5 separate regions of the Homo sapiens genome follow, and all the other regions are linked to region 2. The links are contacts of gene promoters, found by promoter capture Hi-C in blood cells and fetal thymus (Javierre and others, 2016). All regions are on one chromosome and are shown on one strand. Each heading gives the region's core, a stretch centred on a gene start or on the middle of the fragment in contact. The rest is flanking DNA. Distances are from core to core; before and after follow the strand shown. Region 1 overlaps LRBA (LPS responsive beige-like anchor protein). Region 2 holds the start of MAB21L2 (mab-21 like 2). Region 3 overlaps LRBA (LPS responsive beige-like anchor protein). Region 4 overlaps LRBA (LPS responsive beige-like anchor protein). Region 5 overlaps LRBA (LPS responsive beige-like anchor protein).

Region 1 (5,419 bases), core at 1,152-3,651, 260 kb after region 2:
AATTGTTTGCAGAATATTGTAATATAATAACTGGTTAGAAGGTTCTTCAAGAGCCAGATCATCCAGAGGCACTGTGAAGAGTTTGGATTCCATTTAACCACTAAAAGATGATATTAGAGAATTCTGAAAGAAAAAGAGTAACATCATCTATTCTAGTTTATTTGTTTGTTTATGAGACAGGGTCTTGCTGTGTCACACAGGCTGTAGTGACACAATCATAGCTCACGGTAACCTTGACCTCCTAGGCTCAAGCGATCCTCCCCACCTCAGCCTCCCAAGTAGCTAGGACTAGAGGCGTGTGCTACCACATGTGGCTAATTCTATTCTAGATTTTTAAGGATCATTCTAGGAAATATAAAGTTATGGACAATAGACTCAGAACCTGCCCAATGGAAAAAAAGTGAACAGAGGAGAAAACAGCAACATTTGGTCCTCAAACTGACCACATTCAAAGGATTCCAGGGAGAAAAAAAGTTGATGGCTTCTTAATTAAAGGAATAATAACAGCTACTAGAGAACTATGATCTAAGAAGGTAGTATAGCCTTTTAGTTAAGATCAAAATTTCAAGAATCAGATTCCCTAAGTCCTAAACTCACTTTCACCTCTTACTAATTGTATAATCTTAAGCACATTACTTAAATATTGCTAACTCCCTCATAGAATTATTGTGAGAATTAAACACACATATACAGCATTGGTCCCCAACCTTTTTGGCACAAGGGACTAGTTTCATAGAAGACAATTTTTCAATGGACCTGTAGGGGGTAAGAGGCGGGGTGGGGGTAGGGGGCATGGTTTCAGGATGATTCAAGTGCATTACATTTATAATTAGATTTTCATAAGGAGCGCACAACCAAGATCCATCGCATGCACAGTTCACAATAGGGTTCGTGCTCCTATGAGAGTCTAATGCTCCTGCCCATCTGACCAGGAGGCGGAGCTTGGCTTCACTCCTCACCCTTTGCTCACCTCACCTCCTGCTGTGCAGCCTAAGTGCAGGTCAGTGGTCTGGGGGTTGGGGACCCCTGATAAGAGCATCCAGTATCATGTTTAATACACAGTAAGTATTCAATACTATTAAGTAGTGATAATACTCCAAATTCTACATATGCATAAAAACCTAGTCAAGAACTAAAGAGAATAAAACTATTGAAAAAAAGGGAGGGGAAAAAGAAAAATTGAGGTTAGAAAGTTTGTAAGAAATATATATGTAAAACATACAGTAAGTGTTCAACAAATATTTACTAATGATAATATTCCAAATGCTGATGAGTGCAATTATAAATTATTTTTACTTTCATCTTTATACTTTCTATATGACTTTAAATTGTCTACATAAGAATTAGCAATGTTTTCTATCAAAATCAGCTGAAACAAAACTGTTTTTCAACTTTAAAAAATTAGAAACACCAAACTGAGAGCAACATTTCATCATGCACCTTTTTATCACATTAGTGTACCTTTGAGGAAAAAATATCCAATATTCAGTAAAATAATATGCCATTCAGAAGTTGAACATTTTATTACATTCAGAGCATCAATTTTAGAATTAAGACTGCTGGGTTTGAATCCTGATTTTATCATTGTTTATCAACACTAGCTTGGAGATGTTACTCAAGCTTTATGTGCCTTAGATTATTCATCTATAAAATGGAAATTACAATAGTACAGCTCAATAAGTTGTTGGACTTAATTAATACATGTATATCACTTAGACTGCTTACTATGTAATAATGCATTATTCCTTTTAATATCACTATGCTGATCTGCTAGCTCGCTTTATATAAACTATCTTTTCTAATATTCTGTTTCTAAAATCATTGTCAAAAGAAGTCGTTTCTAGACCTTTCTATCTCTGCTCCACTATTTGATATCACAAAGAATTTTTAATCTCAATACATTAGGCCTAAGAGGAAATATGCATCAGTTAAGAGAGTATGTGAAAGACATATTGTAACTTACTATGTCTCTGAAAACAACTGCCCTAAGCCGATTAATATCCATGTCCTGTAGAAGCCTGTCAAGATCTCTTACTGGAGATATACCGCCAGTCACAATGTCCACTGGGCTCTATTTAAGATTAAAAAAAAATTGTATATATATATATTCATATATACATTACACAGATATTCTTTAAAAATAAACACAGTATTCCCAGAACCAGAAAAGCAAAGCTATAGCATTCCTTTCCCCACTTTTTTTGTGTGTATGCTTCCTTCTTCTTTGAGGGGTTGGGGAGAGAGGTGGAGAAAGATGGCATGCAGGAAAAAATGACATATTTGAAGGAAAAGGCATCACAGAAACAATCAAAGTAAACACTGGGAAAAGCAGAGAGGTTTAAATATAAACAAATCTTTATTGTGTATTTAAACACAAATATTTGAATGTTATATGCAGGCCTAAAGTAACTATTTTAATCTCTGCCAGATTTATTTAACTTTATGTTGAAATGAACAAATAAAAATCTTAATTGTAAAATAGGAGTATGCTTTTTGAAAATTAATTAATCTGTATACTTACCTTCGCTGCAGATTTCCCTAAAGGAATAAGGCTATGCATTGGTTTCAAGGCTTTATCTCCCCTAGTTTTCAGTTGTGAATGCTGTTGACACTCCAAGCAATTCCTTACTGCGACTGCACAAACTGTAATTTATTTTAAGGAAAAGATAGGGAAAGAAAAGTTAATATTTAAGATTATGGAAGTGAAAAACATCAACTACACAATATGATTTACATAAGATTTTATTCAAAACAGACGACATTCAGCTTATTCCTAAAATGTCCCTAGACTTTATCGCCTAGTGTTGGTTGTCTGATATTGTTAGCTTCCATGCTGTGGCCCAGTTAAGATTTAGGGAGGCAGTATGGCCTAGTGGTCTAAACGTTTAGGGTTTGCTGAAAGGAAATCAGTTCAGGAATCTTAACAATAGGCTACTATTTCTTAGATCTCAACTAAGCTAGCTGGGACAATCTTTAGTTAAGAAAAGGATAGGGAAGAAAAGAATTGAAAGAAATGGAAGAAAACAGGGAACAAAGTACATTACCATGAACTAGTCGAGGTAACAATCTTCTATTACCATCATTAAAGTAAATTAGTTAAACTGGAAACTTTGATGTTCTTCTTATATTGCATCATTACAGCATGATATTAATTGAGACTAATAGAGGATATAGCTTTTGAAAGAAGCTTTATAGGGTCCAGCATTTACTAGCTTTCATTAAAACTGCTTAGAAAATGGGAGACAGGAAAGGGAATTTGATTAATATACAGTCTAAAATTACCTAAGGCTCCCACGAATCAGGCAGTTAGATTACTTAGAAATTAATTTTGGATTTTAAATGATGAATTACATTATGTACCCTTCACTATGAATTGCTTGATACCATGTAATCATCTAAATTCCCTCCAAATCTGTAGCACTCAAGGTACTTGAACTGAGCAAAGGAGGGAGAGCAAATTAGGAACAAAATAGCAAACTTAAGGGGGGACTTCACAAAGAATCACTGGCCTATCACATGGCTAGCAGGCATGAGAATTTAGAAAGAAAGTGTTCTGAAAGGTGCCCAAAGAGAGCAATAAAAGTTGAAAGAAAGGAAGGAGGGAACAAGAGGAGGGAAGAGAGAATATGGAATACAGCTTTGTCAAATTTGCTATCAGACCCAAGAAATATTTTACTTTATCAAATTTGCTATCAGACCCAGGAAATACTTTTCATACAAACTTTTTCACAAGTTGCATAAAATCAAATTTGAGTCTGTATTACAAAGTTAAAAATCACACCTCATTTCCTGGTTTCAATCAGTTACTCTTACTGCTGTCATCCTAACTTCTAACTCCAACCTCAGGAAACAAGAATGAGGACACCAGTGTCCATCAACAGATAACTAGATAAAGAAACTGTGGTACATATACGCAATGAAATAATATTCAGCCGTAAAAAAGAAAGAAATCATGTCTTTTGCAGCAATATAGATGGAACTGGAGATCATTATCTTAAGTGAAACAAGTCAGACACAGAGAGACAAATATTGTATGTTCTCACTTATAAGTGGGAGCTAAATAGTGTGTACACATGGAAGTAGAGTGCGTAATGATTGAAAATGGAGACTCAGGCCAGCGGTGGGGGCTCACATCTGTAATCCCAGCACTTTGGGAGGCCGAGGCGGGGGGATCACAAGGTCAGGAGATCGAGACCATGCTGGTCAACATGGTGAAACCCCGTCTCTACTAAAAATGCAAAGAATTAGCCGGGTGTGGTGGGGCACACCTGTAGTCCCAGCTACTCAGGAGGCTGAGATAGGGCAATTGCTTGAACCCGGAAGAAAGAGGTTGCAGTGAGCCCAGATCTTGCCACTGCACTCCAGCCTGGCGACAGAGTAAGGCTCCATCTCCAAAAAAAAAAAAAGAAAGAAAATGGAGACTCAGAACTCAGAAGGATGAGGGGGTGAGGGGGGTCTGATGATGAGAAATTATTTAATGGTACAATGTGTGTTATTCATGTGATGAATACCCTAAAAGCTCTAACTTCACCACTAAGCAATCCATGTATGTAACAAAATTGCACTTGTACCCCATAAATTTACACAAATACAATTTAAAAAAAAGATATCACACATTTGGACTGTTACTTTGTTTACCATACTCTATTAAATGATCTTGGACAAGTCATTTTTTAAGTCCCATTTCCATATATAAGAACAGATGGTACTGGGGTGGATTAAATTATCTCTTAATTCTTTTCCGTGGCTATGAAAAACTAGGAACATAGAGTATTTCCCTAGCCTCTGAATCTGATGATTCTTGAGTAAGGCTTTGCTAGTATAGCCTTGCACTTTTACTTCTAGAAATGTACTCTTTCTAGGAAAGTGAAAAGCCTTCGAAAATGGCACACATAAAGCAATAAAGTCTAAATATTTTAATTATAATACTAATAGATTAAAGAAGTATACTACAATAGAAAGAGTAGGAGCACTAGTTAGACAAAAGTATAGTATTCAAATTCTACCTTCACCAATTATAGCTTTTTAGCTATAGATAAGTTTCCCAATTTCTTTTATCTTCAATTTCCTCATGAATAAAAAGAACAAAATTGTCACCGTGAAAATCAACAATGACAAATGACAATAGTCAATAAATGATAACTTTTATTTTGTTATGCTTACAATTAGAATGTCTCTTAAATTTTAAAACAACTGTCTATAAATTGTTATTCCAAGTTACTTAGAATAGCAAGATATACCATTGATTATTAAATATAAAATACTTGGAATTTTACATTTAAACTAATACTATTAAATACTTTGAATAGCATTTTGAGTAAAAATTATACTTGTGGCAAAAAGCACAGGTATACATTAGTTTATGTAACAGACATTCTTGCTAAATATGAAAAAATATGTCATTAACTACATTTTCCAC
Region 2 (6,087 bases), core at 1,184-3,683:
GACGCCCCACCCGAGAGAAGAGGAGAAGGCGCAGGACTTGCGGCGCGGCGGCGGAGCCATGCGAACCAACTCCGCCACCCCTGAGGCTGTTTGCAAACACTCACTCTCGGGAGCGTCGCGGGCCGGGCCATTCGCGAACCAGACGCAACGACGAAGCGACCACCTCGAGAGTGGGGCGGGAAAGCTCCGCACCCTCTATCCCCGCCACCAGTCTCCGCCCAGTAACTGCCCCCGGAGAAGCAACCACGGAGCCCCTCCCGGCCAGTCGCGCTCTCCCGGCAGCGCAGTGCCCTCCGGCCCAGGCAGTTCCCAGAGCGCCGGCAAGGCCTCCCGGGTTAGAGCCGGGCTCCCACAGGCGCGAACTCCGAGGGCGCGAGGTCCCCTAGATCCTTAGGCGGCGAGGCGTTCCGGGACGCACGCGGCCTCCCCGGAGAAGGCTGGAGGTCAAGCAGCCCAAGTCTCTGCCACTCCAGAGAAGTTAACTAAAGCTCTGGAGTCCAAGAGTCGCGCGGACACTTAATTCTGACTCTTCTTCCTAATCGCGGGAAGACAAACCCTAAGCAACAAATCCGAGATAGTTTTTTTTTAAGCAAATATTCCTTAGAAAGGGACTTATGGCAACGAGAGAGGAAGGGTGACAAACTGCCTGTGGTCCGCACCAGGTATGTAAGAAAGAACCAAGAGGCCCAATTGTCTGATACCAAGTAGATAGAAAGAAATTAACTTCCCTATGCAATTCAATTCAGGTTCACCCGGCCGGACTTTAAGAGGGTAAGTCAAGCCCTCCCAAGGGGTTTTGAAAAAGCCGAACTACCAGGTTTCTAAAACGAAGTCTTCACCCAAATGGACGCATAGATTTTTATTTTTATCGCATAACCCAGGGCTGGAATATAACCTCCCAAATCAAACTAAAAATAATCACATCTACCTGAAATACGTTAAAAAGATTCAGAATCCAGACATCTTAGGTTCATACATAAACCCTCAGTATCAAGCAAATCAGAAACAATGTTCTAGCTTTTTTTTTCACCCAAAAGTATGGAAAGGCTACAGTGGGTACAACTCGTTTAGGATAATACATATACTAAAAGCACATGCATGCCTTTCATTGAAATGCCTAGGGAGGAGTGAAGCCATCTGTGTAATCAATAACAGGATAGTTATAGATTTTTGTGGCAGTGAAGTCTTTTAAAAGCAAGAGTCAATTATGAAAATAAAATCATTTTACAAATGAAACTCTGTACCTGTACCCCCTAAGAATACATTCACAATTAGATTTACAACAGTAAGATTTTAAGAAAACTTTAGGTTTACATTTACTTGCCTTGTTTTTCATTAAGTTTGAAGCAATTTTAGTAGCTTATTTTAAAAGTATATCCTACTAAGTTCTACGACATGTAAGTTTGCACCATTTCTCACAACTTAGATATTTTCTCTCTCGTAACTAGTTAATTCTTGTAACGATAAAATAATGGTATTAAATACATGTGAATCTTAATTATGAAATAATTATCAAACAAGGTGCTTGGACTAGTTTTTGCCCTGCCCTGTTTTTAAACAGCATATCGAAATTACTAAAAAGAGATTTATAAACCCTCACCTTATATCCACTCCAACCCTCACTGGTGCACATATACAGCAACTGCTCTGATTCTTGGCAACAATGGGAGGGGAGGGGAAGAGAAAGGAGGATGACTTTAAAGGAGGAAAAAACCTGGAAAAATTAGGTCCTTTCCCAGATTCCCCTTTCGCTTCCCATTTGCCTTCAAGCCAAAGTAATTTTGTTACAGTTTGCACCTTCTACTACACAATGTTGATAGAATCATTTAAAAAAAAAAAAAGTGAACCTTTCTGAACCATTGCTACTCTCCCTCGCGTTATTCCAGCCATCTCCAGGAGAGTCCCTTCTATATAAACTCTTTTTCTTCTTTGCTACTGATAAGAGAGGAGGATAAAGAGGAACGGCTGTAAAATGTGTGCAAGCATTTGACTCCCATTATCTCCTCCTATTTTCTTACTTCTCTCTTTACCCTGTTTCTTTATCAAGTGCAGTGGTGGCTGCTACCGTTCGCCAAGCGTGCCTGTCTTCTCTCTCGGATTGGCTAAAGCACTGACAGCTCGGATAGCGATTGTAGGAACTGAAGCTCCACCCCCTCATGATGGCCCTGGGACCATTCATAAACTAAATAACTCCAGGAAACAGCGAGGGAGAGAGAGAAAGAAAGAGAGAGGGAGAGAGAGAGACAGAGAGAGTTAGAGGAAAGAAGAGAGAGCGAGCACGAGGAAGGGGGGCGGGGGAGAGAAGCAGGGGGAGAGCGGGGCGAGAAAGAGGTCGGAGGGGAGAGGAGGGGGAGAGACGACTCAGAAAGTGGAATCTGTAAAAGCAAGCTAGAGGAGAAGAAGGAAAACCCTGAATCGTTATAACTACACCCCAGATGCAACGCAAGCAACGACTTCGTCACACTAAAACGGATTTTGTGAGGGCCAAAAGTATAAATTACGAAGCAGAAATGATTATCAAACAACTTCCAGCGGTTTGCACCTAAAGAAACACAAGGAGAACCCACTACAAACAAACAAACCCAGTCCAAACAACGCCTCCAGTAGGAAAAGAGGAAAACTGCGATAACACGACCCCCCGAGAAGAGACGAGACCAACACGCTGAGACTGTGGGGCGTCAGCAAACCTCCAAGTGCACGGCGGACTGAGTTGTACTTCGCAGCTCTCTGGACATTAATTACCTCCTGCACCTTCCATTTGGGGGAGGGTGAGGAAGAAGGCACTCACCTACACTGAGCGAAGAAGTCCTATCAGCGTGGAAGAGAAGTTTAAGAATGAACCACTGAATGTTTCGCTTTTATTTTTAAATTTACTTTGGCACTTAAAAAACCTCATTTCCAGATTTCTGGACAATCTCGGCTGCAGACATCTAAGCCTAACCTTTTGGTATCCTGAGTTTTTTCCCTCTCCTTCTCCTTCCTCACGCCCACCCCGCTTCTCTCGCACACGGTCATCTTTACATATCAAGAGAAAGCAAAAAGGTTCCAAGAGGTACTTTTCTTTTTAGAAAATCACCTTTTCTCCCCTAATTCTTCTGCAGAAGAAAAGAGGTTTCGAAAGAGGGAAAAGGAAAAAACAAGCCGGCTACGGTATCAGCCGGTCAGCCCAGGTGGAAAACGAGAGTGAAAGTAGGGCTTAACGGGGAGCGCACCGCCTCTTTCGAAAGCCGCTGGGCCACCACCAGTGCGTGAGCCTTGGATCCCTCAACGTATTGCGAGACGCCGGTGTATAGCCCGGACCTGTGCCCCAACATGATCGCCGCTCAGGCCAAGCTGGTTTACCAGCTCAATAAGTACTACACTGAGCGCTGTCAGGCGCGCAAGGCGGCCATCGCCAAAACCATCCGAGAGGTCTGTAAGGTGGTCTCGGACGTGCTCAAGGAAGTGGAGGTGCAGGAGCCTCGCTTCATCAGCTCCTTGAGCGAGATCGATGCCCGCTACGAGGGGCTCGAGGTCATTTCGCCCACCGAATTTGAGGTGGTGCTCTACCTAAACCAGATGGGCGTCTTCAACTTCGTGGACGACGGCTCGCTGCCCGGCTGCGCAGTGCTCAAACTGAGCGATGGGCGGAAGCGGAGCATGTCTCTCTGGGTCGAGTTCATCACGGCGTCGGGCTATCTCTCAGCGCGTAAGATCCGCTCGCGTTTCCAGACGCTGGTGGCCCAGGCGGTGGACAAGTGCAGCTATCGGGATGTGGTCAAGATGATCGCGGACACCAGCGAGGTCAAGTTGCGCATCAGGGAGCGCTATGTGGTGCAAATCACTCCGGCGTTCAAGTGCACCGGGATCTGGCCTCGCAGCGCGGCACAGTGGCCTATGCCCCACATCCCTTGGCCCGGCCCCAATCGGGTGGCCGAGGTCAAGGCCGAAGGGTTCAACTTGCTCTCGAAGGAGTGCTACTCGCTGACCGGCAAGCAGAGCTCGGCAGAGAGCGACGCCTGGGTGCTACAGTTCGGGGAGGCGGAGAACCGCCTGCTGATGGGCGGCTGCCGAAACAAGTGCCTCTCAGTGCTGAAGACTCTGCGGGACCGCCACCTGGAGCTACCCGGCCAGCCGCTCAACAACTACCACATGAAGACGCTGCTGCTGTACGAGTGCGAGAAACACCCACGAGAAACGGACTGGGACGAGTCGTGCCTGGGCGACCGGCTCAACGGCATCCTGCTGCAGCTCATCTCCTGCCTGCAGTGCCGCCGCTGCCCTCACTACTTTCTGCCCAACCTCGACCTCTTTCAGGGCAAGCCCCATTCGGCCCTGGAGAGCGCTGCCAAGCAGACCTGGAGGTTGGCCAGGGAAATTCTCACCAATCCCAAAAGCCTGGACAAACTATAGGGTGCTGGGGACTGCTTGAAAAGCGACACAAACGGGCGTGCTCTCTCAGACACACAACTCTGCTATAAACAGCAGAAACTCTGGACACAAACTTTTATGTAAGTCACCTGAAATAGGAATCCGGCAGAAGACCTTCATTAATTAAGAAGCAAACAAAAAGAGAGCAACCCAACCAAAACAAATCACATTCTTGCACAAAAGTGATCGTTTTCTTCCAAACAATGTGAATTTAAAAGGTCACACAAAAGAAGCAATCGGGCTCCGCCACCACAAAATGAAACCCAAGGTACATTTTCAAATCAATGTATAGTAGTTCCCCCCCCTTTTCCTTCTTTCCCCCTATCCTTTTTCTCTCCACCCCATCCCCCCCCCCATTTCGTTTTGCTTTTGGTTGCCTGAATGTTGTCACCAAGTGAAAAAATTATTTAACTATATGTAAAATTTCTCTTTTAAAAAAAAGTTTTACTGATGTTAAACGTTCTCAGTGCCAATGTCAGACTGTGCTCCTCCCTCTCCTGAACCTCTACCCTCACCCTGAGCTGTCTTGTTGAAAACAGTAATAAAAACATTACTTTACATTGTAATTGACTGTTTGTGGATTGTTCTTAAGTGAAGGCAGGTGAGATCACAGTTTATAATTTCCAATGTAAAGATGTGACGAGGAATCAAATGCAAGAAGCTTCCACTTGAACTGATTTGCAAAATTTTAAATACAGTACATTTTGTAGAATTGACTGTATAAGTTCCGACCCAAATCCTTAGAAAATAGAAAACACTAATTTTACTCAACTATAATATATATTTGTTCTGTAGATGTTAAGATTAAAAGTAACATCTACTTCACGCTTGGGAAAAAAGTATGAAAGAAAATATTTTGATCCTAATTTTTAAAATAGAAAAAACTTTTTCACATTAAAAATTAAGAGATGTGCTTTCTTATGCCATAATTTCAAAAAATCCAATCTGAATCCGATATACAAAGGAAATATTTATGGATTTTTCTGAATAGTTAACAAAGTCAGTTGATACTTTTCCTTCAACCGTTTGTCCTCTTCAAGCTTTGAGTGATAAAAATTTAACAATTAAATAAACCACAACAAAAAATACAATGGTTATAGCAATAATCCTCTCCCCAAGCATATGGTGATATGAACCATTCAGATTTATAAATTACTTCCATTTTAAAATGGCTTAGTTGTAAATTCCATAAGTATGATTATTTTAATCAAATTTCAAGAATTATTCTGAAACTGCTTATATGCAATTCAAACAAAAAAGGTTTTCATACCATTTTTATAACCAAAGAAAAATTATTATTCCAGGATTTAGAAATAGGAAAAGTACCTTCCTCCTCTTTCTGTTTTTCTAAGGTAACAAACCAATATACTCATTTCAATGTTTCAGCTTTAACAAAGGTTTCTTTTTAATGCAAGGGAATAACTGATTAGAAAATAATATAATTAGTCAAACAGAAAGTATCCCAAAGGAATTGGTTTGTCTTGCTTATGTTGAAGGTAACTATATACTCCATTCGCTATGCTAATGATGAGACACAGGTACAGAATATATGTCAGATGTTACCCTTTAATATCTAACATTTATTCTTTGTATTAGCCCAGGTTTTAATTTATTGAGAAAATGCACAAATGAGAGGTGTAGAGAAAAATGTTTTTAAAGGCAATTTTAAAGATCAGA
Region 3 (5,851 bases), core at 2,124-4,623, 320 kb after region 2:
GTCTTACAACAACCATCCTAGTCATATTAGCTCCCCAAACAACTCACACCAGCACAAGTAGTATTCTTCCACACAAGTAGCAAGTTATTAAACTCTAGAAACCACAATTTAGGACAAACTATTAACATTATCAATGAGATTAAAATAAAATTTTGCCATAATGGAATATAGAAAAACTGCCCAAATATATGATAGTACTGGTTAAAACAAAAAGAAAAATTAAATCCTGATTTGCATTTGTGTAAAGTAATATACAGACAGAAATTATATACCTAATCCTTTTGGGGTGATACCACTTCGATCCTGAGGATTCACTGCCCAGTAGTAGTACTTCAGCGTGTGCATGATGAGAAGCACTGTTCCAACTCTCCGAATGGTGTTATATATGTTGACTGTACCAATGAATTCCGTGGACAGATAAGTATAGAGCATCAGTTGAACCTACAGAATAAAAATGAAGAACTTAGAGAACCCCACCAGCATTTTATCTGTTTCCAGTAACACTTCCAGGCTGTTTTATTTTCACCACGCTTCTTCCAAAAAGTAAGATGCTGAGCCTGATAATAATATCCATATTAGACAACACATACTCACTGACACACAAGCACATGCACACACACTCCTTATAAAACCAAACCAGGTAATTTCTTCTTTTATAGCAGCATTATCAAATATGGAAACTTTTTGCTGCATTATTCCATGAAAATAACTTTGTGATTCCTATTTAGCAATCAGCAATTATTCCTAAGCATGTGTAACTTCTTTATAATAGACTTATTACTTATGCTATCTATGCATAGTTGTTTGAAAAAGCTAGAATTTCTTTCAAATACAACATTTGCAGAAAATCAGGAGCTAAAATGACTCAAAAGAAAAAGTACTAGTAACTCAAAAGGAAAAAATAAATAGAACAAAACCAAAAGAAAGAAAACCACAGAAAAAGATATAGAGTTTACCTTGAAGAATATTAGAAAAACAGAATTCTATTACAGTAGCTCATTACAAGAAACATTCCAATCTAGCATTTTAATCATAACATTATAATCTCTCAACATGTATATCATGTCCCCCAATTAGGAAAGGATTCTACTAATCTCATTGAAAGTAAATAGTCTAAAAAAATACATAAGAAGTTATATATGTTTATATTAACTTCGAAATATCTCCTCTTCATATGTAAGAGAAAGAAATAATACAAGTGCTACCCCACCACTGCACATTTCATCTTAACAAAAAATTGGCCCACCCCAGTGATTCACGCCTGTAATTTCAGCATGTTAGGAGGCTGAGGCGGGCAGATCACTTGAGGTCAGGAGTTTAAAACCAGCCTGGCCAACATCGTGAAACTTCGTCTCTACCAAAAAATACAAAAATTAGCCGGGCGTGATGGTACACACCTGTAGTCCCAGGTACTCAGGAGACTGAGGCAAGAGAATCGCTTGAACCCAGGAGGTAGAGAGTGCAGTAAGCCGAGAGAGCACCACTGCACTCCAGCCTGGGCAACAGAGACCCTGCCTCAAAAAAAACAAATTTTTTTTCAGTGAAATTATGGGTCTGAAACTCATCAACTATAATCCATTACTTAAAGCAGCAAAAATAACGACTGCTTTTGCTCTACTCTCATGTTGAAATCAATTCATTTTATTGCTAGAGGGTATATTTTATAAGCTGAACAACTGTAAGTATAGGATATATATTCTTCCCTTGACCATAGACCAAACTACTGATCATTTATAACTGAACCTTTATGTTACCTTCCTGGACAATGAGGGCATTTTCCTTTTCAAACCTGCAAGGTACCTCAGTGTCACCTAGGGATTTCTTTAGAGAGCAAAAAGTAGGTACCTATCTTCCAGGTGCCCTGCAAATAAACAATCAAGGCTAAATGAATTAGAGTGTCAGTGAATAAATCTAACATGCTAAAAAGTGGCAGGTTCTGAACCACTTAAAAGCAGGGCTTGGAAGATCATTATAATTCACAAAACCATATATGTATCTATACACATACAATACATTGTGATCTACTGACCTGCCGCAAAATGTTATTTTGATGTAGCTACTGCTGTTCAAATTGATAGGCCCAATCCACTTGTCATTGAGACAATACGACATGCCTCAAATTCTTAACCATGTTATTTCAGTCTCTTAGCAAATATTTACATCTAACTATATGCATAACACTGTATCATGGAAATACAGTGGCACATATGCTGTCCCTAAGTAGCTGAAATACAGTTGAAAAGATTAAAAAAACACTTATATTTAAGCAAAACAAATCAAAGACAATAAATATGCCTACCAAAACATGAAAAAAGTCATGAAGCAATATGTAATTGAGTGACATAGAGCTATGAAATATTATTAATTCAGAGGACAGATAAATTATTATAGGATAAACTGAAATAGTAAAGAAAAGCTTCACTAATAAAGTAGGCATTAAGATAGGCTTTGAAGATGAGTAGTAGAATAGACAGACAGAATACAAGAGGAAATTTCAAGCTAGAAAAATGATGGTTGAAATAAAGGTTTCCCTAGAGTTAGAACAACAGTTCTCAATCTTGACTGCACATTAAAATAACTGAAAAACTTTTCTTTTTTTTTAATACTGATGCCTGAGTCCCATCCCAGTGAGGCAGGAGAATAGGGTCTGGAGGCAGCGAACCTAAGGACTTCCTAGAACTAAATCAAATGGAAATGCTACAGCTATGACAGGAAATATCCTCTCCATTTACATAGGGCATACACCGAGTAAATGACTTTGTAACTTTACTGTATCCTCTTCATTTACATAGGGCATACACCAAGCAACCAATGGAAACCTCTAAAGGTTATTTAAACCCCAGAAAATTCTGTAACAGGGCTCTTGAGCCCCTACGCTCAGGCCTGCTCCCACAGTGTGGAGTGTACTTTCATTTTCAATAAACTTCTGCTTTTGTTCCTTCATTCTTCCCTTGCTTTGTGCATTTTGTCCAATCCTTTGTTCAAGACACCAAGAACCTGGACACTCTCCACGGATAACACCAGATTGATGAAATCAGAATCTGCAGTGGAAGTGGTGGGATTCTATTTTTGCTTGTTTTTAAAAACCTACCCCAACTGATTCTATCAGCAGTCAAGACTGAGAACCACCACTGTAGGGAAACCTTTTGGTACCTCCCTATCCACTGAGGATATTTCCATTTTTAAGCTAGAAAATCTAGAAATAAGAATTGACATGAAATCCTTAGATAAAGGACTAACTACTTCGTTCTGAGAACAATGGGAAACCATTAAAACTGCTGGGGCTAAGAAATTATAAGAGTCATATGTTAGGAAAATATTGGCGTTGGGCATGGTAGCTCAAGACTGTAATCCCAACACTTTCTGGGGCTGAGAGAGGAGGATTGCTTGAGGCCGGAAGTTCGAGACCAGCCTAAACAACAAAGCAAGACCCTAGTCTCTACAAAAAAATTTAAAGAGTTAGCTGGGAATGGTGGCGCACACCTGCAGTATCAGCTACTCAGGAGGCTGAGGCAGGAGGACTGATTGAGCCCAGGAGTTTAAGGTCGCACTGAGCCATGGCCATGAAAAGAACATGTTGGAATTCTGGCAGAATAGTTATAAGTTAGACAAAGAAATGGAAAACTGGAGAAAGTCAGTCTATTGAGAATGATACTGTGGTAAAAGAAAAATGAACAGAGGCTGGGCCTGATGGCTCACACCTGTGATCCCAGCACTCTTGGGGGGCTGAGGCAGGTAGATCACTTGAGCCCAGGAGTTCGAGACCAGCCTGGGCAACATGGCAAAACATCATCTCTACAAAAAAATACAAAAATTAGCTGTGTGTGGTGGTACACAGCTACAGTCCCAACTACTCAGGAGGCTGAGATGGGAGGATCACCTGAGCTGGGGAGGCAGAAGTTACAGTGAGCTGAGATCCCACCTTAGTGACACAGTGAGACCCTGCGTCAAAAAAATAAGTAAACAGAATTTAGTAGCAACGTATAGAGATGAATGAAAGACCTCAAGATTACTCATATGCTAATTATGAATAAACCTTCCCTCATTCACTCATTATGTACTCCAATAGCCACACAAATTGTGTGTTAACATCTGTCTTTCCCACTAAATCTAAATTCTATGAGGGCAAGTATCAAGTCTATCTTGTTCATCACCATATCCACAGTGCCCACCATAAAGTAGTCACTCAACAAATATTTGTTGAGTAAATGAAGGACCATGGTAGACAAGAAAATTCATCTCTCCTGCTAGGTCATTAAAAAGATGTTCTCTGAACAGATCTAAGATAAATGGAAATTATAAATCGCTGGTAGCTCCCTTTTCCAAAAGCAAAGCTTTTCACATCCACACATCCAGACCTTCAACTTTTAACCAGAGGTGGATTGACCACGAAGCTGATAAAGCTTCAACTTTATGACCACTGATCTATAAATGTTTCTTCCAAGACCCTAAACCTAATTTTGTATGCATTATATTGTATTCTTCTTCTTAAAAAATTTCCCACATGATAAACATTTGACCTTCAAGTCAAACAAAATTTGGATCTGCCCTTTTTTATGACTGTCTTTACAATAAAATAAAAGCAGATAAAACCCCTTGTGGATACATAAAGCAGATGGCTAAAACAGGAGAAAATGCTAATATTATCAACTCAACTGCAAATTCTAAAAAGGAAATTGAGAAAAGTTATTAAAAAGTAGAAGATAAGAAATAGAGTATAATAATACTAGGAAACTAAGAAAATCATAAGATGAATTTTTTTTAATTCCCCTCCAACTAAGTATCTAATAAGAGGCTTTCTGACCACATCAAAAGAGACACAAAGCCTTACAAATATGCTGATTAGTAAGACAAAAAAGTATCTAGTAAAAGATTTTAAAAGTAACTTGAAACAATCCTCAAAAAGAAGTAAGACTGAGGGTCATGGAAGAAAATGAGGTCAAATTTGACCTGGAGATAAAAAGCTACAACCTCCAACTGCCTGTTTCGATTATTTCCAAATGGCAATCAGAGTCAGCAGCTGTTTTTCTCTTTAACATTTGAAAAGACCAGCTGAAAATAAAATATTAAGACTCTAGAAAAGCAAAAAAGTCTGCAGACTTTTTTCTGACAACTAGAATAAGTAGGTGCTATTCCAACTTAAACAATGATAAACACTGCAAGTGGGCCAAAAGGCAGAAGGGGAGAGAGGAAAACTGGGCTTGAAATAACACGACTTCTAACAAAAATTGTAGATAAGACGGATACAATTATGCAATTTAATAAAATGATCTGTTTCAAGTTATGCTTAATACTGCCACTACTGAATTTTTAGGACAATGTATTACAACACTAGGATTTATTAAAGATTTTGTTCATATACCTTACCACAAATTCATTTACATTCACATAGAACTAATTGGTTTGTTGTTACAAAACTGAAAAAAAAAATTTGTACAAATGTTTTCATAATTTGAATTAACGTGAAATTAAAATGATTACGAGACTAGTATATCATGCCTTCAAAGAAAAAGTGACATTTCAGTGGTACCTATAAGAATGAAACTCAGTAGTTCATCATGTTGGAAGGCAAAAGTGTGAAGTAAAAAAGAGAGAGAGCAGGAGCAGGGTGAGTTCTTAAGAAATAAAAAAAAAAGAAAAAATATATATGGATATTTACAATGGAACAAAGCTACAGTTACTAGGAAACATTAATAATTACATTAAAACTGTCTAACTTTGATTTATATTTAGTAAATGAAGTCTCTCCCAAATAAAACTTTATTTCATTTAATTTCAGAAAACAAAGACTATACCTGTATCTTTTAAAATAATGATATTGTTTACAAAGAATATATTCTTTGTATGTATG
Region 4 (6,020 bases), core at 3,372-5,871, 340 kb after region 2:
GCTGGAGTCCATGTGCAGTGGCGCCATCTCGGCTCACCATAAACTCTGCCTCCCAGATTCAAGTGATTCACCAGCTGAGTAGCTGGGATTACAGGTGTGTGCCACCACACCCAGCTAATTTTTTTTTCTTTCGAGATGGAGTCTCGCTCTGTCACTCAGGCTAGAGTGCAATGGCATGATCTCGGCTCACCGCAACCTCCGCCTCCCAGGTTCAAGCGATTCTCCTGCCTCACCCTCCCAAGTAGCTGGGATTACAGGTGCACGCCACCACACCCGGCTAACTTTTGTACTTTTAGTAGAGACGGGGTTTCTCCATGTTGGTCAGGCTGGTCTCGAACCAACCTCAGGTGATCCACCTGCCTGGGCCTCCCAAAGTGGTGGGATTACAGGCGTAAGCCACTGTGCCCGGCCTATATTTTTTGTATTTTTAGTAGAGACAGGGTTTCACCACGTTGGCCAGACTGGTCTCAAACTCCTGACTTCAAGTGATCCACCTGCCTCAGCCTCACAAAGTGCTGGGATTACAGGCATGAGCCACCACACCTGGCCAAAAACGATCTTTTAAAAATATAAACTACATCAATCCCCCACCCACCCTTCTTTAAAATTAAAAATACTTAATAATTTAACAAATACTTAAATAATGCTTACTATATTCCACTGTTAAAGGTACTTCAAAAAGATACTTGCACATGCATGTTTATAGCAGCACAATTCACAATTGCAAAATCATGGAACCTACCCAAATGCCCATCAATCAACGAGTGGATAAAGAAACTGTGGTATATATATATATATATATATATGATGGAATACTACTCAGCCATTAAAAGAAATAAATTATCAGCATTTGCAGTGACCTGGATAAGACTGGAAACTATTATTCTAAGTGAAGTAACTCAGGAATGGAAAACCAAACAGTGTATGTTCTCACTGATATGTGGGAGCTAAGCTATGAGGACACAAAGGAAAAAGAAAGATACAATGGACTTTGGGGACTTGGGGTAAGAGTGGGAGGCGGGTGAGAGATAAAAGTCTACAAATATGGTGTGGTGTATACTGCTCAGGTGACGGGTGCACCAAAATCTCACAAATCACCACTAAAGAACTTACTCATGTAACCAAATACTACCTGTACCCCAATAACTTATGGAAAAATAAAATTAAAAAATAAAAATAAACATTTCAAAAAATGGTACTTCAAAAACACTAAAATATTTTAACCTCATAACCACCCTATGGGATGGTATTATTATGATTATCCGCAGTTTACAGAAGAAGAATCTGAGGCAGGGGAACATTTCCAAAGTCACATGGGTAATAACTGTCAAGGTCAGGATGAGAACTCAATCTTGACTCCAGAGTCCATGCTTTTAAACAACTATACAGATGCTCCTCAACTTACGATAGGGTTACATCCTGATAAACCCACAGTAAGTTGAAAAGAATGTAAATCGAAAGTATGTTTTTGATCCAAAATATTGTCAACTTAAGATGGGTTTAGCCGGAGGTAGCCCCATCCTAAGTGAAGGAGTATACTGAATGCATATCACTTTCACACCATCGTAAAGTCAAAAAAAAAAAAAAACAACTATACTTTCACCATTAAAATAGGGACCAAAACCTTTAACATGGACTATAAGATACTTTATCTACTTCTTTAGCCTCATTTTGCTTCTTACTCTCCCCTTCTCCCTGCACTCCATCCTTTTTTCAGTCTTCTTCCCACAACAGGGCCTCAGCAAAAGCTATTCCTTATGCTTAAAATGTTCTCAAAAGGACCCCTGTACTCCCCTCTTATCCAAGTCAATCTTACCCAGCCTTTAGAGCTCATCTTAACAGTCACTTCCTCAGGGTAGCCTTCCTTGAAACTGAGAGTGGATTAAACTTCCCTATCATATTTCATTCTACAATATACCTTTACCGCATAGCATATAAATATATGTATACGCATAGCATATACATATAAAAGCTGCAACGCTGAGTTTATTTGATTAATGTTTCCTTGGTCCACAAGTCTCTAATACATGAAACAACCAACAATAAAAATGAAAAATCTCATTTGCAGTTACAAGGAAAAACAAAAGATAATCAGACATACTATCTCATTTTAATCAGTTTATAACCAAATAAGAAAAGTGTGGGGCATTCCTCCTTGTTAAAAATGTAAAAGTTCAAAACAGGGTCAAACTACAAATGAAATCATTGGTTTGCCTTCATCTTATTTTTATAGATGATATAAATTATAATTACTACCTGTGTAAAAGAGTTTGGCAACCTTTCACCTAAATATTAAGTGGAAGCTTCATTCTTAAGTGAACAAGAAATTTTCAATTAACCATACTGCTCAATTGTAAAAGCATAATAACAAGTAACTACAATCACAGTGATTTTTTAAAATAAATTCCAAAGTAAAATAAAGTAACCAAAAATAACTCTGCAGTTAAAAATAAAAATACAGTATTATAGCATGTCCATCTAGAAACATCATTCCTCCAAATTTCCTTTCCTATAAATCAGTCAACAAAAGAATACATTAAGATAAGCACTTTACTTGACAGACATTGCTGGGGGAGTGTATACTGTACTGGTAAAGCCTTTCAGAAAAAAATTTAGTAGACCAGGCACAGTGGTTCACATCTGTAATCTCAACACTTTAGGAGGCCAAGGTGGAGGGATCGCTTGAGCCTAGGGGTTTGAGACCAGCCTGGGCAACATGGAGAAACTCCATCTCTAGAAAACAATACAAAAATTAGCCAAGAATGGTGGCAAGTGCCTGTGGTCCCAGCTGCTTGGAAAGCTGAGGTGGGAGGATTGCTTGACCCAGGAGGCAGAGGTTGCAGGCAGCCGAGATAGCACCACTGTACTCCAACCTGGGTAACAGAGCAAGACTCTGTCTGAAAAAGAAAAAGAAAGAGGAAAAGAAAAAGATGTAGTAGTCATATTTCAAGAGTCCGTAAAGACGTTCATGTCCACCAATGCAATATTTCCACATGTAAAAATCTATGCTAAAGTAATCACCACAAGGGCAGACAGAGATTTAGATATAGGGATTTTTTCACTGCACTGCTATAACAGCAAACGATAGAAATAATATGCCTAATATTAAATAACTAAATAAACGTAATGAGTATCTGAGCAAGGCCTTGCTCTCATTTTATAAATAGTTCATTATTTTTTCCCTTTATCATCTAAAACTATTCTCATTCTCCTCCCCCTCCCCATAGGCAACTATATTAACATGTTTAATCTTTTTTATGTAGATTATTCCTTCAAAAATAATGTTTGGGGCTGAGTGTGGTGGCTCATGCCTGTAATCCTAGCACTCTGGGAGGACTGCTTGAGCTCAGGAGTTTGACACCAGCTTGGACAACATGGCAAAACCCAGCCTCTAAAAGAAATGCAAAAATTAGCCTGGCATGGTGGCACATGTCCGTGGTCCCAGCTACTTGGGAGGCTGAGGTGGATCTCTTGATACCAGGAAGCTGAGAATGCAGTGAGCCATGATCACACCATTGCACTCCAGCCTGGATGAGAGTGAGACCCTGTCTTTAAAAAAAAAAAAAAGAAAAGAAAAAAAGGTTTTTATGTGCTTACACTTATCATTGCTTTCTTTCCTATATATTTTACATCTATTCCTATTACTCCATGTACTGATTCTGTTATAGAACAATCTACCTTCTATACATTTTACCAATCCACTCTCTTAATGATGAACATCCATGTTAACATTCACTGCCATCAAAAATAATGCTTCAGTGAACATCCTCATGTATTTTATGGATCTATGTGAGAATTTCTTGGAATACGCACTCAGAAGTGAATTATTAAATCACTGGATACAGGTAAAATTAACATGACTAAGTAGCACTAGACTCCTCTTGAGGTTGGCTCCACTGGTGTTCATTCTAATGAAAAGCGCACCAAGTATAAAATAACCCTATATCCCAAACTATACTTGCCATTTTCCAACTTTAAAATTCTTGAGAAACTACAGATGGAAGGTGACAATATCAATACTGTTTTAATGTGAATGTCTCTAATTATTAATGATTTTGTGTTCATTTGGTTGTGGGGTTTCTACCTCTGTAAATAAATATTAGTTCATATTATTTGCTATTTTCTTACCTATAATTTTCTATGCTTATGAATATAATAAAAATACATTACATATTCAGAATAAATAATGTGAATATAAATAAAAACCAAAATCAAATATATACTTTCTCTTCTGGACACGACATATTAATAGGACCTGGACTTACCAACCTACCATAAACAACTAGAAAAGTGGGCAAAATGTATCAAACAAAAACAGTTTTCAGTATGCAGGAAGAGGTAGCTCAAGACTGTGTTCCCTGAGAAAACAAAATGACTTAAACCTGGAGTCAATTTCCATATCATTGCACAGGGAAACCAAACAGAACCCGAAAGTCTCAGTGAGTTGGAAAGAAAGTGGAGTCCACAGAAGATAGAAGTTTCAGAGAAGAATACTAGGGAGGAAAGAACTGAACAGACAAGAAGCTCCAGAAATCTGCATTGACTCTTTGACTTAATACCAGACTGATCATGCTTATGATAAAACTCAACATGGTGGGGCTAAGATAGTAAGAGCTTTAAGTTAAAGAATTCCCAAAACTAATACAGAGCTAGGAATTGTTGAGACCCTACTAGACACTTCGGAGAGACCACAGTCTTGCTACCTCCTGTCCTATGTCTGAGACTTGAGAGTTATTCAATAGAGACCCTCTAAGAGACACGCCTGAATAGTAAAACTAAACTAGCCGTAGCGTAACAGCCACTCTAAACCTTACTGGAAAAAAAACTTTTAAACTAGTTTTGAAGGATAAAGTTGATCCACAAATAACTTATCTGCCTACAAAACCAGTCTAACAATCTTAAAAGGAATATGACAAAATCCAACACTCAGCAACATAAAATTTGCTATGTCTGATATATTGTCTAAATTCAGTAGCCATAAGCAGCAGAAAAATGTGACCTACATAAAGGAGCAAAATCAATGAGTAAAAAACTGACCTAGAAAATGACATTCTAGAATGAAAAACCAAGAGCATTAAAGCAACTATTCATATGCTAAATATTGTCAAGGATTTAAAGGAATTAAATGAGGGAAAAAATGGAAAATATTTAAAAGAACCAAATAGAATTTACAGAAAGAGACCAGGCATGGTGGCTTATGCCTGTAATCCCAGCACTTTGGGAGGCCAAGACGGGTGGATCACAAGGTCAGGAGTTCGAGACCATCCTGACCAACACTGTGAAACCCTGTCTCTACTAAAAATAGAAAAGTTAGCCAGGCGTGGTGGTGTGCGCCTGTAATCCCAGCAACTCAGGAGGCTGAGGTAGGAGAATTGCTTGAACCCAGGAGGTGGAGGTTGCAGTGAGCAGAGATCGCACCACTGGACGTTAGCCTGGCGACAGAGCAAGACTCCGTCTCAAAAGAAAGAAAAAAAAAAAAAAGGCCAGGCGCGGTGGCTCACACCTGTAATCTCAGCACTCTGGGAGGCCAAGGCGGGCAGATCACAAGGTTAGGAGATCGAGACCATCCTGGCTAACATGGCAAAACCCCGTCTCTACTAAAAATACAAAAATTAGCCGCACTTGGTGGCATACGCCTGTAGTCCCAGCTACTTGGGAGGCTGAGGCAGGAGGATGGCATGAACCCGGGAGGCAGAGCTTGCAGTGAGCCGAGATCATGGCACTGCACTCCAGGCTGGGCAACAGAGCGAGACTCTGCCTTAAAAAAAAAAAAAAAAAAATTTACAGAAAGAAAAATATACTATCTGAAATTTCAGTGGATGGAATTAACACACTGCTGAAGAAAAGATCAGTTAACTTGAGACTACAGCAATAAAAACTATCTAAAATAAAGCACAAAAAGATTAAAAAAAGAGTTAACAGATCCCAGTAACCTGTGAGAAAATATCAAGAGGTCTAATATATCTGTAATTGGAGTCCCAGAAAAGACAGGAAGCGGGGACAAGAAGACAGTATTTGAA
Region 5 (5,384 bases), core at 1,622-4,121, 300 kb before region 2:
ATCAATATTGTGAAAATGGTCATACTGCCCAAAGTAATTTATAGAGTCAATTCAATGCTATCCCCATCAAGCTACCATTGACTTTCTTCACAGAATTAGAAAAAACTACTTTAAATTTCATATGGAACCAAAAAAGAGCCTGTATAGCCAAGACAATCCTAAGCAAAAAGAACAAAGCTGGAGGCACCATACTACCTGACTTCAAACTATACTACAAGGCTACAGTAACCAAAACAGCATGGTACTGGTACCAAAACAGATATATAGACCAATGGAACAGAACAGAGGCCTCAGAAATAACACCATGCATCTACAACCATCTGATCTTTGACAAACCTGACACAAACAAGCAATGGGGAAAGGATTCCCTAATTAGTAAATGGTGTTGGGAAAACTGGCTAGCCATATGCAGAAAACTGAAACTGGACCCCTTCCTTACACCTTATACAAAAATTAACTCAAGATGGATGAAAGACTTAAACGTAAGGCCTAAAACCATAAAAACCCTAGAAGGAAACCTAGGCAATACCATTCAGGACATAGGCATGGGCAAAGACTTCATGACTAAAACACCAAAAGCAATGGCAACAAAAGCCAAAATTGACAAATGGGATCTAATTAAAGAGCTTCTGCACAGCAAAAGAAACTATCATCAGAGTGAACAGGTAGGCTACAGAATTGGAGAAAATTTTTGCAATCTATCCAACTGACAAAGGGCTAATATCCAGAATCTACAAAGAACTTAAACAAATTTACAAGAAAAAAACAACCCCATCAAAAAGTGGGCAAAAGATATGAACAGACACTTCTCAAAAGAAGACATTTACGCAGCCAACAAACATATGAATAAAAGCTCTTTATCACTGGTCATTAGAGAAATGCAAATCAAAACCACAATGAGACACCATCTCACACCCTTCAGAATGGCAATCATTAAAAAGTTAGGAAACAACAGATGCTGGAGAGGATGTGGAGAAACAGAAATGCTTTTACATCGTTGGTGGGAGTGTAAATTAGTTCAACCATTGTAGAAGACAGTGTGGCAATTCCTCAAGGATATAGAACCAGAAATACCATTTGACCCACAATCTCATTACTGGGTATATACCCAAAGGATTATAAATCATTCTAGTATAAAGACACATGCACATCTATGTTTATTGCGGCACTATTCACAATAGCAAAGACTTGGAACCAACCCAAATGCCCATCAATGATAGACTGGATAAAGAAAATGTGGCACATATACGCCATGGAATACTATGCAGCCATACAAAAGAATGAGTTCATGTCCTTTGCAGGGACATGGATGAAGCTGGAAACTGTCATTCTCAGCAAACTAACACAGGAACAGAAAAGCAAATACCTCATCTTCTCACTCATAAGTGGGAGTTGAACAAAGAGAACATATGGACACAGAGGAACATCACATACGGGGGCCTGTTGTGGGGGTGGGGGCCTAGGGGAGGGATAGCATTAGGAGAAATACCTAATGTAGATGATGGGTTGATGGGTGCAGCAGACCACCATGGCACATGTATACCTATGTAACAAACTGCGTTCTGCACATGTACCCCAGAACTTAAGGTATAATTTAAAAAAAGATACTTCAAAGAAATATAAAAAGCTTTGCATCACTGTAATCAGAGCCTTTGCTACTTAAATTCTGTCTATTCCTTGAGAACTCAGCCTTTGTCCAAGAGTGGCAATGTCATCAGAAAGAAAATCACACTTTTTAAAAAAGTGTTCTTGGTTTGATTGTACAGGTGACCCCCACAACTCAACTCCATCAGCCCATTTAAATAAATTCCCTCTGCAGGTTTTACTATACAATTTTGAAAAAAAAATTTTTTTTTTCTGTAGAGACAGGGTCTTGCAATGTTGCCCAGGCTGGCTTCGAACTCCTGGGCTCAAGTGATTCTCCTGCCTCAGCCTCCCAAAGTACTGGGATTACAGGTGTAAGCCAACACGACCAGTCCCCTCTGCAGTTTTTGAAACCCCTATTTGTAGCCCATGATTCCAGTGTTACCTCTGGTCGTAAGACAGCGCCATGGCCCGGATTCCAGCGTCACATCCTGGATAGGCAAAGAGCTGCTTGAGGTCCGACACCTGCCGGACCACGACCACTCCTCTGTCTCCTCCTGTGAGCAGGTACTGCCCATCTCGGCTCAGCTGGATGGCCTGTGAGACACAGCAACATTCAGTAGAAATGTGGTTCTAGGAAACTTTCGGCCCCCACCCTGTTTTTGAGTCATTCTTACACCAGCTACTACGGTGCAGAGAGAAGAGAGAGAGATCCTCAGGAGTTTTTAGAAAATCGTGAGTTGTAGAAGATCTGCCATTTTTCAAAAACCAAATGGACAAAGTTCATCAATGCTTGAGATTGTTTTGGCTTTGCTTTTTTAAATACTAGGTAGCAAACTCTTCCAGTTCTACAAATGCTACTGGAATGGTGTGTGTTGTGGACTGGGACCAGTGCTCTAATGAGAAGCCCTGGCATCTCTTCATTTGCACTGCAGACATGCTAATAAGCCTGTTTTGTCCCAAGACTTGGCAGATGGTGCCACCTGACCTTACATCCCCTCTAATCCCCTGCAACTCCAGCTGGAGGGAGGCGGCCAGCAGCCTCGGCACCTTCCCTGAGCCTGCTGGATTTTGACAGCAGTTGGGAAGAAGACTTTGTAGAGAGCTACAACAACTTCCAGGGTGATTAAATCTCAGTTCAGCATTTTCTTGCTCCAGGGCTGACAGTGCTCCAGCCTGTGGTTTAGTCAGCTCTAGGCTGTGCCCCTCTGTCCTTTCCTACTAGCGCTGAACAGACAGTACAGGCTCAGAATTTGCTCTTTGATCCTGTAAAATGGGCATCCATGAATGAAAGCCTGCGGGCCAAGTGCAGCCCACTGCCTGTTTCATATAATTGTTTAACATTTTTTAATGCTTGAATTTTTCATGACACATGAATATTTATATGAATTCCAAATTTGAATCCCCATAAACAGGTTTTTTTTTTTCCCCCCTCGAGACAGGGTCTTGCTCTGTCACCCAGGCTGGAGTGCAGTGGCGCAGTCTCAGCTCACTACAATCTCCACCTCTCAGGTTCAAGTGATTCTCATACCTCAACCTCCTGAGCAGTTGGGATTACAGGTGCCCACCACAACACCCGTCTAACTTTTGTATTTTTAGTAGAGACGGGGTTTCACCATGTTGGTCAGGCTGGTCTTGAACTCCTGACCTCAAGTGATCCACCCGCTCGGACTCCCAAAGTGCTGGGATTACAGGCGAGAACCACTGCGCCTGGCCTTCCATAAATAAGGTTTTACCAGAACATCGCCACACCTATTATTTGTTTATGACTGCTTTCACAGGTAGTTGCAGCAGAGAATGCAGAACCCTCAAAGCTGAAAATATTTACTTTCTGTCCATTTATAGAAAAAGTGTGATTACTCCTAATTGTCCCTCCCTCCTCCAAAAGCCAATCCTATTACCCCTTCCTCTCCTCCTGCCTGGTACCTCCAAGCCTTGCTTTCTTAGCTTATTAAGATACAAATTTCCTTTCTTTAGTGGATGGCATCAGAGTTTTAAAGCCACTACAAACACCTGTAATCGCATGTCCACCTGGACACAGGGGAATACAGATTGTGCTGGCAAGCCAGAAAGAAAAAAACCTAATTTCTGATACATTGACACTGTTCTACATTCAGTTCTAGCATAGCTGCCTTAAGTCTTCACTGTTTGACATATCTTTTAAAAAATCATAGAAAGGCAAAGACTTTCTTAGCCATTTATTTCACATTCACCCAAATGCCAACTTTTAGTAGTCCCTTAAATACAGCTTATTCTCAAGAACACAAAAACACATCTAGGAAATAAAAACCCATGTGTGGAAGACAGTTAGTTACATATTCTCTAAGTTTTGTTAACACAGATATTAAGATATTTTCAAGATGAGCAAAAATCAGTATCCTTTTCCCCCACTCATTTCACAAATGGCAATCTCTAGGGGTGTCTGGGAACTGCAGTGGAGACTAGGACAAACAATTATTTGCTACACTTATAAAATTCAGCTGATGAAAATCCATTAACCTTATGGTTGTAGTTCATTTGAATTTGATACTTGAAGCTTTTTACTGGATAAGTGTTATACTAAAACAAAACCACTGATCTTTAATTCTTTGTTCTAGTAAAGAATCTCTAATCCTGCTTCCATCTGAAATTAAGTAAAACCTGGGCTTTAGGGACTATACAGTCATCAGCATTCAAAACATTTTAATGAATCAGATGCCTCCCAAGGTGAAAAAAGATTTCGCTGGCCTCTTTCAGGAGAGGCCAAATTCCTCTGGCGGCAAGAGCCAGGGTAACATTTAGCAAGCAGCACCTGATCTCCCACTCAAATTCTGACAGGCCGCCTCCGCATCCAGGTTGGGTTGTGACTAGAGGTTTTCAGAGGGCCCCAGACACATGTTAATCTCATCCCCTGAAATCCTGAGTGCTCTGGACAATGCCGTGGCTGCACGGGTTTTAAGGAGGTAGTAGCAGGCCACAGCAATCTGCTGGGGATGACCACATTCTAAAACAGCCTCAGGAAGGGAAAACAAATGCATTCCCCTGGGTGAATGGTGGTTCTCCCTTGTTTAGGACAAAATAACTTTGCTGCTCTGTACAGGCTGCCTCCTTAAATATCAGCTATTCATAAAGACATCTCAACACTGTCTAGTTGATGGACTGTGATATGCTGCTAACCAAAATGCCACAGAGCAATCTGGCATCTAAAATAAAAATAGGTGGGAAGTGCAGAGCTTCCCCAGGCTGCCTGCCTGCAGGGTTCTTGGTATTTCACAGAAACTTAATTTCTGGTCTGAGCTGATGACTAATTTGTTTCCATGGTGTCCATTCCTTATATGGGCTCAGATTGAGGAAGGAGCTGGAGATTCTGCCCTGTGGTGTCTTGGATTCCCAGCCTGTGGCTTCCTTCCTCGCCTCCCGAGGTAGTGAGCTGTGAAAGTATCAGTCTCTGGAGCTGTGGGCAGGTATTGCTCATTTTAGGCAAGCTCGCTTTAATCACACAGTTGCCACTTGCAAGTTAGCATGATAAAGTGCAGGAGTGCTGGGAAAAAGGCAATGGATTGTTTAAGCCTAAAATCCAGTGGGAAATATTAAAGAGGGAAAAAGCAATGGCTACAGGGCAGAGAGGAGAAGCATGTGTGTATGAATGGTCTGCAGAAAGCCTCCCACTGCTGCCTCAAGGAACTTCCCAGAGCCCCTGGTACTAACTGAAATGCCACAGAAATTGCTTCAGTCAGCCAGGGATCTCAAATTATTTTACAGATTTATTAGCGTAGCTGACAATATAATCGCAACTCAAAGTGACAGATTATCCACATTAT

What was found. The method cuts DNA at HindIII sites, captures the fragments that hold promoters and counts their contacts. A CHiCAGO score of 5 or more calls a contact.
Region 1: a contact is called between a fragment that was not itself captured here and the fragment with the promoter of MAB21L2 in region 2, in 2 of 17 cell types (megakaryocytes and endothelial precursors). The highest score is 6.1, in megakaryocytes.
Region 3: a fragment that was not itself captured here is called in contact with the fragment with the promoter of MAB21L2 in region 2 in 1 of 17 cell types (endothelial precursors); the score reaches 5.7 in endothelial precursors.
Region 4: a fragment that was not itself captured here is called in contact with the fragment with the promoter of MAB21L2 in region 2 in 1 of 17 cell types (megakaryocytes); the score reaches 5.2 in megakaryocytes.
Region 5: a fragment that was not itself captured here is called in contact with the fragment with the promoter of MAB21L2 in region 2 in 2 of 17 cell types (megakaryocytes and M1 macrophages); the score reaches 9.9 in megakaryocytes.

What each region holds. Positions count from the first base shown.
Region 1 is chr4:150,842,137-150,847,555 of GRCh38, forward strand. It overlaps LRBA (LPS responsive beige-like anchor protein), which reads right to left. Exons shown (of 57, transcript NM_001364905.1): 27 at 2,522-2,643; 28 at 1,964-2,071. Among named protein-coding and RNA genes, the nearest start is that of LRBA, 170 kb to the right of the region's middle. The HindIII fragment of the contact is 1,567 bases long and covers 1,619-3,185 here.
Region 2 is chr4:150,579,718-150,585,804 of GRCh38, forward strand. MAB21L2 (mab-21 like 2) reads left to right here and starts at 2,434. Exons shown (of 1, transcript NM_006439.5): 1 at 2,434-4,976. The coding sequence starts at 3,313. The coding sequence ends at 4,392. The region is part of intron 40 of LRBA (LPS responsive beige-like anchor protein); the gene reads right to left. It overlaps LRBA-AS1 (LRBA antisense RNA 1), which reads left to right. Exons shown (of 2, transcript NR_149035.1): 2 at 1-1,517. The HindIII fragment of the contact is 6,793 bases long and covers 1-5,069 here.
Region 3 is chr4:150,899,777-150,905,627 of GRCh38, forward strand. LRBA (LPS responsive beige-like anchor protein) reads right to left here. Exons shown (of 57, transcript NM_001364905.1): 14 at 273-441. Among named protein-coding and RNA genes, the nearest start is that of LRBA, 110 kb to the right of the region's middle. The HindIII fragment of the contact is 1,918 bases long and covers 2,415-4,332 here.
Region 4 is chr4:150,921,612-150,927,631 of GRCh38, forward strand. The region is part of intron 4 of LRBA (LPS responsive beige-like anchor protein); the gene reads right to left. Among named protein-coding and RNA genes, the nearest start is that of LRBA, 91 kb to the right of the region's middle. The HindIII fragment of the contact is 4,640 bases long and covers 2,302-6,020 here.
Region 5 is chr4:150,275,824-150,281,207 of GRCh38, forward strand. LRBA (LPS responsive beige-like anchor protein) reads right to left here. Exons shown (of 57, transcript NM_001364905.1): 56 at 2,030-2,181. Among named protein-coding and RNA genes, the nearest start is that of DCLK2, 200 kb to the left of the region's middle. The HindIII fragment of the contact is 2,493 bases long and covers 1,626-4,118 here.